2 separate regions of the Homo sapiens genome follow, and region 2 is linked to region 1. The links are contacts of gene promoters, found by promoter capture Hi-C in blood cells and fetal thymus (Javierre and others, 2016). All regions are on one chromosome and are shown on one strand. The core of a region is centred on a gene start or on the middle of the fragment in contact, and the rest is flanking DNA. Distances in the headings are between cores, read along the strand shown.

Region 1 (6,164 bases), core at 1,193-3,692:
TCTTAAATACCTCTTACCAACACACCCCACATTTACCATGGTATGTGGGCTTCCTTGCTGCAGAAAGCCATAATCAGCTGTCTCTGGTTAGTTATGTTCCTGGTGGTATTTGGCTGATGGTCATCAACAAAGCAACCAGGAAAAATGTAAACAATTGGCAAATTTGGATAGAGTATGAGAACTCCTTATACTATTTTTGCAACTTTTCTATAGCTTTTAAATGATATAAAGATGAAAATATTTTATTTTGTTTTTAGTTTTTAATTTTTTTTTTTTTGAGACAGAGTCTCGCTCCCTAGCCCAGGCTGGAGTGCAGTGGCGCGATCTCGCTCACTGCAAGCTCCGCCTCCCGGGCTCACGCCTTTCTCCTGCCTCAGCCTCTGGAGTAGCTGGGACCACAACTGCCTGCCACCATGCCCAGCTAATTTTTTGTATTTTTTTTTTTAGTAGAGATGGGGTTTCACCATGTTGGCCAGGATGGTCTCGATCTCCTGACCTCGTGATCCACCCGCCTCGGCCTCCCAAAGTGCTGGGATTACAGGCGTGAGCCACCGCGCCCAGCAAAAATATTTTAGATATCAGGAAATAGTCATAAGGATAATGGGAATAATAAAATTGAGCATTATATAATATGGCAGTTCACTAGTTTATTCTTTTTTTTTTTTTTTTTTTTGAGTCTCACTCTGTTGCCCAGGCTGGAGTGCAGTGGCGTGATCTTGGCTCACTGCAACCTCCACCTCCCGGGTTTAAGCAATTCTCCTGCCTCAGCCTCTAGAGTAGCTGGGACTACAGGCACGTGCCATCACGCCCGGCTAATATTTGTATTTTTGGTAGAGATGGGGTTTCACCATGTTGGCCAGGCTGGTCTCAAACTACTGACCTCAAGTGATCCACCTGCCTTGGCCTCCCAAAGTGCTGGGATTATAGGCATGAGCCACCACAACCAGCCTCACTAGTTTAGTCTCTATTAGCAATATTTAAAATTTTCTATAGTTAAAAGACATATGGGAAAACACATTAAAATATAACAATTTTTAAAAAAATGTTTATCAACAAATATAGAAGTAGACACAAAGAAAGACAAAAGAAATCAATTAGAAGCTTAACAGTTACTACCTTTACATCTTGGATACATGGGTAATTAAAAAACTTTTTCTACTCTCATTTCTCCTATTTCAGACTTTTCCACAATGATACAGTTCCACAACAGTACGAAATACTTGGAAAACATGAAACAAAATAGTTGAGAAATTTTTAAAAATTCCTAGACGTCCAAGCCCACGAGCCTTGCTCTCAACGTCCTTTCAATCAGGTCCTAACTTGCTTTCCCTACGAGTCCAGCTAGTTCCTCTGCCTCAATGAGAATGTATCCAAGAGGTGATCAACTCAGGCTCTGACCTGGACTGCCTAGGTGCCAACCCCAGCTCTACCTCTCACTAGTTGGCTGCTATGCACCCTGTGTCTCACTCTCATTTTTAAAACAAAGAAAAGCAATACTTCACAGAGCCACAGTGTGGCCTAAATTTATTTGTATAAAGCACTTAGAATGAAGTTACCAATTACGGCTTAATGATTATCAACACCCATTCCCGAGGACACACTCTCGGTTGGGTGAACATCTCTATAAAGGAAAAAAGCCAAGGACCAATCACATAGAGATTTGCCCTCAGTAGCCAAGAAGTCCCCTCCCTGCAGCTCTTTTAGAAAGGTCAGGCTGGGGAAGGCGAAAGTTGTGAAATACCCTGACTGCATCGCGGTCCCCCATAAAAGTTAAATGCTCCCCGCCCTTCGTGGAAGCGGACGCAACTCGCTTTCCTAAAAAGAGGTCAGAAGGCCTCCCGGGATCATCCAGCGTCCTGCAGGGATTAGGGAGAAGGACCAGGGCCCCTGCAGCTGAAGCTATGACTCCACCCGGGGACCTGACCTCTTCGGGAAGTTAACAAGAGACCACCAGTCACCAAGTGACAGGGACTGCTTTAAGGTTCTCATTTGCGTTATCTCTTTCAGTTCCCAAAAACGATTCTACTAGGATGGTTCTAATGTCCCCATTACCAAAAACAGCAATGGAAAGTATAAGGACATTGAGTAACACTCCACGTCACACTGCGAGAAAGCGGTCGCACAGGTAGGGTGGAGAGAGGCAGGCTGAGCGAGGTCAAAGTCCTGGAAACGCTCACAGCAGGGCACAGAGGACCCCGCCAATTCCAACCCCCGGGATGCGAGCACAGCACCCCCATCCCAGAAAGCTTCCGTGGACGGGAAAAAAACCCCATTCCCCGCCCCCACCAAACCTCCGCTCTCCGCCAAGGCTTCTTTTCCCTTGCTTGGATCATCGATCATCGGGTCGTTGCGACCCCAAGCGAAGGTGACAAGTTCAGAAGGACCCGCCAGACGCAGAAATGGCTCAAACTACGCGGTTATGTAGCAACCGCAGGCTCACACACCGGAAGTGCTCGCGTCTCCACAGAGCGTCTGGACTCCACTTCCCAGAATTCCCCGGTTCAACTGCTTGAGCCAAAGGGTCCGCCATTCCATGAAGTTGATGGACTACAGTTCCCAGAATTCACTCGTCCACCCGCCTGAGCCAACTTGCCCGCGACTCAGAGTGTGTCTGGACTCCGCTTCCTCCAATGCCAAAGGAAAATGTCTATAATCTCACTCTTCAGCGGGAAGCGTTGGACTCCGCGGTGGTCCTTGACTACACACACCGCAGTGCCCACCGGGAACGTATTCCATATCTCTGAGCGCCTGGTGGGGAATGTGGACTGTGACCCTGTGAGTCGTCCGTCTCTCTTCCTGAGTCTTTGAGCGAAAATAGTGTATAGACAGGAATTCCTGAAGTCTAAACGCCTCCCACGATGACAGGAGTGTTATTGGGAAGAGAACAAACGAGGAGATAAAATCTTCAAGGATTAGGATAATCTGACGATGGGAGGTTAAAACTAACGGTTTAAAGGATGAGCCAGGTGGAATGGTTTGGCAGGGGCAATGAGGAGCAGGAAGACACCAGCCCCTACTCCAGAAGCTGTGGGACCACTGGTTTGGCAGGAAAAGCCACCCCCATTTAAGATCACAGCTACTAGTGGAGAAGCGGTGTCGTCATGGAATAGCTATCTTCCCATAAACTTTTCATGGTATTCATATTTCTCCTTAGATGTAGAAACATCAAATTTCAGCGAATGTAGTGAATTGCTCAGTACCTCAGAGCAATAATGACTGATGAAGAGCTAGGCATTGGTATCAATCTTACATTGAGATTGTAAATGCAGTAAAACGGGAGGATTCTATAGGTGAAGGAGCATGTCTTATAAAGAGTTTTCTTCCTGGCCAAGCGCAGTGGCTCAAACCTGTAATGCCAACCCTTTGGGAGGCCAGGGCAGGACGTTCCCTTGAGCTCAGGAATTGGAGACCAGACAGGGAAATACAGGGAGACTTCGTCTCTATAAAAATTTTTTTTTAACTGGCCAGGCATGGTGGCCTGATCTTGGGACTACAAGTTCCAAGTACTCAGGAGGCTGAGGTGGGAGGATTGCTGAAGCCCAGGAGTTTGATTGAGGCTGCAGTGAGCTATGATGCCACCACTGCCCTCCAGCCTAGGCAACAGATACCTCAATAATTAAAGATTTTTTTTTTTAAGTTTCTTCTTATTTCTTGGTGAAACATAATTTCTTTATTATAGTTAGCAATTTAAAAACTGGCATTGGTTAAAAAATAATAACAGTATAAAGCTAAATTAGGAAACAATTCATCTAAAAACCTGCTCTTTTGAAGGTAACTTTTTTTCTCCCTATAAACATACATTGGCCTATAAACCAATATTCTTCTTTTTAAAAAAAATGGAGTCTACTGTTTACCTATTTTTCTAAACTAAAAACTTTTCAAAATTTTGTTTAGACACAAAAATAAGGTGACTGTGCCAAACTTTTGATGCCAAACATCCGCTCTCTGAAAATTGAGTGATCACTATTCATATGCCAGTTATAGCTGTATCCTTGATCTACTCTGCCTTCCCGAAAGATAAGATGTATTGACACACTCAATCGTAGCATGCAGGGAACTGAGCCTAAAAGGTTAGGGGCACTTGGCATCAAAGGTCCCTTCTGCTTCCCAGGTCCGTGCACTCTGGGTCTGTGTTGGGAGGAGCAGCCTCTATGATCTCCTAGATGCCTTTGGGGTCATTCTTCCAGTGTTAATGGACAGCAGGTCCTGGCTTCTGTTGACATGACCAATCCAAACTAATCTCCTAAATCAGTTGCTTATCTCTACCGTTGTTTTATCCAGAACAGGTTTTCTAATTTTTTTTTCCAAAGTAGATAGGCTGTGAATTTTTAAAATTCTTAGTTCTGTTTCCCTTTTAATTAATAATTCTGACTTTCTGTGGTGTCCCTCCCACATGTGGGAATTCTGGGAGATACAATTCAAGCTGAGATTTGGGTGGGGACACATCCAAACCATGCCATTGATGACACTGACAAAAACAACAGGGAAAGGACTCCCTATTCAATAAGTGCTGCTGGGATAACTGGCTAGCCATATGCAGAAGATTGAAACTGGTCCCCTTCCTTACACCTTATACAAAAATGAAGCTGGGCGCTGTGGCTCACCTCTGTAAAAATGGGTAATAATGTCCCCACTTTTAGTTACTTGAGTCTTTTTTAGTCAGTCCTGCTAAAGTTTTCACAATTTTGTTAGTCTTTCAGAATAATCAACTCTTGGTTTGGTTGATTTTCTTTGTATTCTTCTTCTGTATTTTATTTATTAATACTTTAATCTTTATTATTTCCCTCCTAATCACTTTCTGTAAGATTCTCCTTTTCTAGTTCATGAAAATAAAATTAGGCTGTGGATGTCAGATCTTTCTTCTTTAATATAAGCATTTACAGATATAAATTTCCCTCCTCCTACTGCTTTTGCCTCATTCCAAAAGTTTTGGCCATTGTTTTCATTTTCAGTTGTCTAAGGTATTTCCTAATTTCACTCCTGATGTACTCTGACATATTATTTAAGAGTGTGCTGCATGCACACGTATGTTTATTGTGGCACTATTCACAATAGCAAAGACTTGGAACCAACCCAAATGTCCACCAATGATAGACTGGATTAAGAAAATGTGGCACATATACACCATGGAATACTATGCAGCCATTAAAAAAGATGGGTTCATGTCCTTTGTATGGACATGGATGAAGCTGGAAACCATCATTCTGAGCAAACTATCACAAGGACAGAAAACCAAACACCGCATGTTCTCACTCATAGGTGGGAATTGAACAATGAGAACACTTGGACACAGGGTGGGTATATATATATATATATATATATATATATATATATATATATACACACACACATACATATATACATATATATACATACATATATATACACATACATATACATATATATACATACATATATATACACATATATATATAAAGAGTGTGTTTAGTTTCCACATACTTGTGAATTTTCCACTTTTCATGATGTGATTGAATTTCAGCTTTTGTGATCTAGATTATAATTGGAAAAGACTTTTATGGTATTAAACTTTTGAATTTATTAAGATGTTTTATTGAATTTATTACAACGTTTTCAGCCTGTAGTGTGAGAAAAATTACAAATTATTGTTGAATTTATATTGTATTCAACCAATGGAACACTACACAAAGCCACAAATACTAAGAATGCAACTTCGGAATAGAGGAGGAGGGGAAGACAGGAACCAAGTGTGAACAGATATTATCAAAATAATGCTGTGAACTGCAGTATTTAGTGTACTCTGCATTTCAACTCAGGTGTCCCTGAATTATTTGTAGATTTCCTCTCTTAGATACAATTTAAAAACATCGCGTTTGCTCCTTTTAATTCATTTAACACATAGTGAACACAAAGTGATAATCAGTGTTAAAGTTGTGAAGATGCAGCAGAAAACACATGTCACTGACATTCTAGTGGTAATCAACTTTGATATGTTCATGATTCGTTTTGTAAATGCATGAATGAACTCTTAAGGTCTGTCTCCTGAATAACTGTAACTGTCAAACTTTTGTTTGAAGCCCTACTGCACAACTTACAAGGGTTCTCCACTGTGACAGTCCCAGGACCACTGGGGTATGCTGAGCTATGGCTGAAACAGGCTTTAACTTAAATGTTTTTTCTCCTAC
Region 2 (5,746 bases), core at 256-2,755, 480 kb before region 1:
CATCGTAATTATTCATTCAACCCAATGATTTAGGTATTATTAGGCCTAATAAATAGAAATGGAATAAACTCGCCAGGGAAAGACAATTGGGTCAGGTGTGGTGGCTCATCCCTGTAATTCCAGCACTGTGGGAGTCTGAGATGGGAAGATTCCTTGAACACAGGAGTCTGAGACCAGCCTAAGCAATATATTGAGGGTCTGTCTCTACAAAATTTTAAAAATTAGCCAAGCACGGTGATGCACACCTGTAGTCCCAGCTACTTGGGAGACTAGGTGGGAGGATCACTTGAGCCCAGAAGATGGAGGCTGCAGTGAGCCATGATTGTGCCACTGTACTCCAGCCTGGGCAACAGAGTGAGGTCTTGTCTCAAAAGAAAAAAAAAGGACAGATTGTCAGATTAGATGTATTTCTTAAGCAGATATATGCCCTTTATAGGTGAGAAAGCCAAGTCTTTGTATCTTCTACATCCAGTGTTCTTCACCTATACATACTGCTTTTCATCGAGGTCCACATTTCATTTTCTGTCTCATGCATTAGCAAAGTACAGCCTGTGGCTGTTTTTGTAAATAAAGATCTATTGTAATGTAGCCACACCCATTTGTTTATATATTTTCTGTGGCTAATTTCTTGCTATAGCAGCAGAGTTGAGTAGTGTGATAGAGACTGTATGGCTGGCAAAGTGTGAAATATTTACTATCTGGCCTTTGACAGAAAAAAATCAACCACCCCTGTTTCATTAATTTCTTGGGAATTTAGAGGGAATTCCTAAGTGGGAATTCTATATTCACCAGTGCAAAAGTCAGAATAAGCATCCTTTTTAAGGCAGACAAAATAAAATAGTTTATATCAGTTCTTATCTGGTATTCCTCTTTGGAGTTGTAAAAACAGGTCCAGCATCCAAAACCCAAAGAGCTCACCCAGAAGGCACCTGTACATCTTGACTGGAATCTTTTGGGCACTGACAATTTAAGGACAACTCCCAGGTCACCAATTTTCCTTTTTCCATCTGTCAGACTTTTCCTCCTCCATGAACTTTGGAAGGAAATGATGCCCAGCTGAGCAGGAATGTGTGTCCTTTTTTAGGAAGGAGTGAACTTCAAAATTGTGACTGTGGACTTCACACGGGAGGAACAGGGTACTTGCAACCCTGCTCAGAGGACCCTGGACAGAGATGTGATCCTGGAGAACCACAGGGACCTAGTCTCTTGGGGTAAGAATACACTCCTCTTTAATGAAGATCCATCTACTGAAATGATTTCACATTCTGATCGATTAAGAACTGTGAAATTCAGCAGCCAGAATGATTTTGGCTGCATCTAGATTGTGTTTGTGCTCTTTATTCCCCAGTGAAGATTAATTTTAGTTTGTAGGGTAGAAATAGTGCAGATTCTTGGGCTTGAGATTTTCAGTCTTCATGTTCCTAAAGACCAAAGGCCAGGACCAGATTCTGCAGTAATTTTCTTTTGTCCCCAGCTTTGAAAACTCAAATTCCTGTATCTTTCCTTGTCAGCTTTTTGAAGCAGATACAATCTCCTAGTTGGAGCAAGGGAAAGAATATAAAAAGAATTTTCCAATACATGTGTTCAAGTGAGAACCAGACACATAGGGGTCATTACAGGTGTAGAAGGTCCATTTGAAAAAATCCGCATAGAAGATGCCACATTTTTTCTTCATTTCCCACCTCCTGGTGGACTGTATACATGACTACTTTTTCCATATATACTCTCTATTGCTTGACCTAGTAGCCACCCAGGCTACTAGGAGCAAACTTCTAGTCTCTCTCAGTTGGAATCACAGAAATTTGTGGGGCTTTATTGGTTCCTAAGGTAGTTAGGGAACTGGATAATAATGCCCCATTCCTTTTCTTTTGTTCACAAACATAGTTTCCTCATGCCTCACTGACACAGAGTAGAGTATTTAGCAAGTTTTATGCCTTCAGAAATTCCTGGATATGTAGACACTAATCTCTTAGTGAACATCTGTGTAGCACTAAAGAGTGGAAAAGACTCTCTATACATATTGCAAAATTGGGTTGCAATTCTGTAGGTTCTATGTAGATGATCTTATTTTGGAATATGCAGGTATTTGACATCCAGAGTCTTATTTATTCAGACTAAGATTAAACCAAGATTACAATAGTTCCATTTTAATGCTCTGTTGTAATATTGGGCTGTGGTAGTTCTGTACTTAATACTTTATCTCACCCTTTTGCTTTTTCAACCTAGGTTATCGGTCAGTATTTGAAAACAAATTCATATATATTTTTCATACTTTCTTGTTAGCTTTATTCCATTTTTCCATCTCTAATATTTTTTGACTAAGATGTCTTATATTGCTTTCTTTCAGACTTGGCAACTGCAGTTGGAAAAAAAGATTCAACTTCAAAGCAGAGGATTTTTGATGAAGAACCAGCTAATGGAGTGAAGATAGAAAGGTTTACAAGGGATGATCCTTGGTTATCTTCATGTGAAGAAGTGGATGATTGTAAAGACCAGTTGGAGAAGCAACAGGAAAAACAAGAGATACTTTTGCAGGAAGTGGCATTCACTCAAAGGAAAGCAGTTATTCATGAGAGAGTCTGCAAAAGTGATGAAACTGGGGAGAAGAGTGGTCTGAATTCCAGTCTATTTTCATCCCCAGTTATACCCATAAGAAACCATTTTCATAAACATGTATCACATGCTAAAAAATGGCATCTTAATGCTGCTGTAAACAGTCATCAGAAGATTAATGAGAATGAGACACTATATGAAAATAATGAATGTGGAAAACCCCCTCAGAGCATTCACCTTATTCAGTTTACAAGAACTCAAACAAAAGATAAATCCTATGGATTTAGTGACCGTATTCAATCTTTTTGCCATGGTACACCCCTACATATACATGAAAAAATTCATGGAGGAGGAAAAACCTTTGATTTTAAAGAATGTGGGCAGGTTTTGAACCCCAAAATATCCCATAATGAACAACAGAGAATTCCTTTTGAAGAGAGTCAATATAAATGTAGTGAAACCTCTCATAGTTCCTCCCTTACTCAAAACATGAGAAATAATTCTGAAGAGAAACCTTTTGAATGTAATCAGTGTGGGAAATCCTTCAGCTGGAGCTCGCATCTTGTTGCACATCAGAGAACTCACACAGGGGAGAAACCTTATGAATGTAGTGAATGTGGAAAATCCTTCAGCCGGAGCTCGCACCTTGTTTCCCATCAGAGAACTCATACTGGAGAGAAACCTTACAGGTGTAATCAATGTGGGAAATCCTTTAGCCAGAGTTATGTCCTTGTTGTGCATCAAAGAACTCATACTGGGGAGAAGCCTTATGAATGCAATCAGTGTGGAAAGTCATTCAGGCAGAGCTATAAACTTATTGCACATCAAAGAACACATACCGGAGAGAAGCCCTATGAATGTAATCAATGTGGGAAATCATTTATCCAGAGCTATAAACTTATTGCACATCAAAGAATTCATACTGGGGAAAAACCCTATGAATGCAATCAGTGTGGGAAATCCTTTAGTCAAAGTTATAAACTTGTTGCTCATCAGAGAACTCACACAGGAGAAAAACCCTTTGAATGTAATCAGTGTGGGAAATCCTTCAGCTGGAGCTCTCAGCTTGTTGCACATCAAAGAACTCACACTGGAGAGAAACCGTATGAATGTAGTGAATGTGGAAAATCTTTTAACCGCAGTTCTCACCTTGTTATGCATCAGAGAATTCACACTGGGGAAAAACCGTATGAATGTAATCAGTGTGGGAAATCCTTCAGCCAGAGTTATGTTCTTGTTGTACATCAGAGAACTCATACTGGAGAAAAGCCCTATGAATGCAGTCAATGTGGGAAGTCCTTCAGACAGAGTTCATGCCTTACTCAACATCAGAGAACTCATACTGGAGAGAAACCATTTGAATGTAATCAGTGTGGAAAAACATTTAGCTTGAGTGCTCGACTTATTGTGCATCAAAGAACTCATACTGGAGAGAAACCCTTTACATGTATTCAGTGTGGAAAAGCTTTCATTAATAGCTATAAACTTATTAGGCATCAGGCAACTCATACTGAAGAGAAACTCTATGAATGTAACTAGTTTGTAAATCAGCTGGGATTTCTTCCTTTTTATTTCATTCTTTTAAAAAATTTATTTTAAGGTAGTACATGTAGTTGGAAGAACTACTATAAAAACAATATATGTGGGAAAACTTCCAGCCCTCTGTTAATTGTGTGTCTCAAATTTGTTCTGGAAAAGAAAGGGGGAAAGTCTATGAACGACTTTTCAACCTGGCAATTCCATATACAATGTTAAACTTGATTCTTATGACATATTCCTATGAAAATAATAAATACTGGCACTTTTCCTTGCAGAAAGCACTCAGACCTGAATCAGAGAAAATCATATGCCAAAGCCAACTGCCAGTGTTAGACCTCTTTTTCCATAAAGAGTAAATGGAATGCTAACACTAGTGGGCTTATTGAGAAAATTTAAAGGTTGCTGTAGTGTTTAGAACTTAGGCTGGAAAACCATATTTTAGTGCATCATTTTACTACATGATCTTCCAATTAGATAGCTTGTAATCTGTTCCTTACAGCACTTGCTGTTGTTACATGTGAAGATTTTATAAATTTTAGGAAAGTGTCTATGATATATAGTGAAAAGTGTGGGAAAAGAATATAGAAATAATATTCACTTCTAAAACCATTATGATAAAATATTTGTGTATGGATTAGAATAGAAAGGGATTATGGATGTATCTATTCAATTTCTCAGTTTATGTTGGGCCTTCCTTTTTGGAATGTACGCTGTTATGCTATGATAAATGATATAATGAGTAAAAATTATTCAAAGCCAAAAATGAAATACAAAGATTTCCTTCTTTGACTATTTAGGAAAGACTAAGCAACCAAATAGCAAAGATCCCTCAGGATAATGAGGTTTATGTTTGGAATAGCATGAGCAGATTACTACTTAGGACATAGATTCCTAGGAACATTCCTCATTGAAAATAAAATGGATTCCTGGAAATAGGTAACTAGAAATTTTGGCCAGAAATGGTTTCATATGAAGAACTGAGAATGCGTGGGAAGTATAGAGGGCAAGTGGGCTTATTTTCATATATGCAAAGCAATATTAAGGAACTCTATTTTCATGTTTTAGTTCTTCCCCTCATGTAGCATTGTCTCTTTCCTCTGGGATATGTTCCCTGATGTGAGAGTCCTCTGAATAGAAGGGTGCTTCCCTGGCTCAGTGCTGACCGTCTAAATTATGCTTGCAAAAATGCTTTCATGAGGCAAAGTTTTAGTTACTCTTTGATATTTAAGATTTGATTAACATGTCTTTCTGACCTTTCCCTTGAATCATGAATTTGAATCCTGTGGATGACCATATATTGAAGCCTCTGATCCCAGAAAGGTAATAAGCTGAAAGTTGAACTGAGAGACCAGATAATAGAGGTTAATACCCTTGGGATAGGAAAGAAAACTTAAAGGGTAACTGATGGGGTTATCCTTAGCAAAATTCTATCCCTATGAGATGACCCTAAGTGGAGCCATCTCTATGAGGATTAATCCAGAGATTGTTGCACACCTGGCAGTGTCAGGTCTGGGAAAACAGTTGCTGATGTTTTCATGGAGTGTGAAATACTGAAAGCTGCGGGCATCCCTTGGGGACCACTGACCCACACTTTGAAGAACCCTCAATGAGTCTGAAAGAGGTTCAGTATCTCTTGGGAAGGATGTGTTCCAGG

Evidence for each region. Contacts are between HindIII fragments. The CHiCAGO score rates a contact against its expected background, and 5 or more counts as called.
Region 2: a fragment that was not itself captured here is called in contact with the fragment with the promoter of ZNF230 in region 1 in 4 of 17 cell types (naive CD8 T cells, total CD8 T cells, total CD4 T cells and 1 more); the score reaches 9.1 in naive CD8 T cells.

The regions. Positions count from the first base shown.
Region 1 is chr19:43,999,235-44,005,398 of GRCh38, reverse strand. It overlaps ZNF230 (zinc finger protein 230), which reads right to left and starts at 2,442. Exons shown (of 5, transcript NM_006300.4): 1 at 2,292-2,442. It overlaps ZNF230-DT (ZNF230 divergent transcript), which reads left to right and starts at 2,529. Exons shown (of 3, transcript NR_110727.1): 1 at 2,529-3,134. RefSeq lists an enhancer at 2,170-2,679. The HindIII fragment of the contact is 6,099 bases long and covers 2,249-6,164 here.
Region 2 is chr19:44,474,748-44,480,493 of GRCh38, reverse strand. ZNF180 (zinc finger protein 180) reads left to right here. Exons shown (of 5, transcript NM_001278509.3): 4 at 1,085-1,211; 5 at 2,348-5,746. The coding sequence ends at 4,092. Among named protein-coding and RNA genes, the nearest start is that of ZNF180, 23 kb to the left of the region's middle. RefSeq lists a silencer at 3,116-3,316. The HindIII fragment of the contact is 5,031 bases long and covers 1-4,020 here.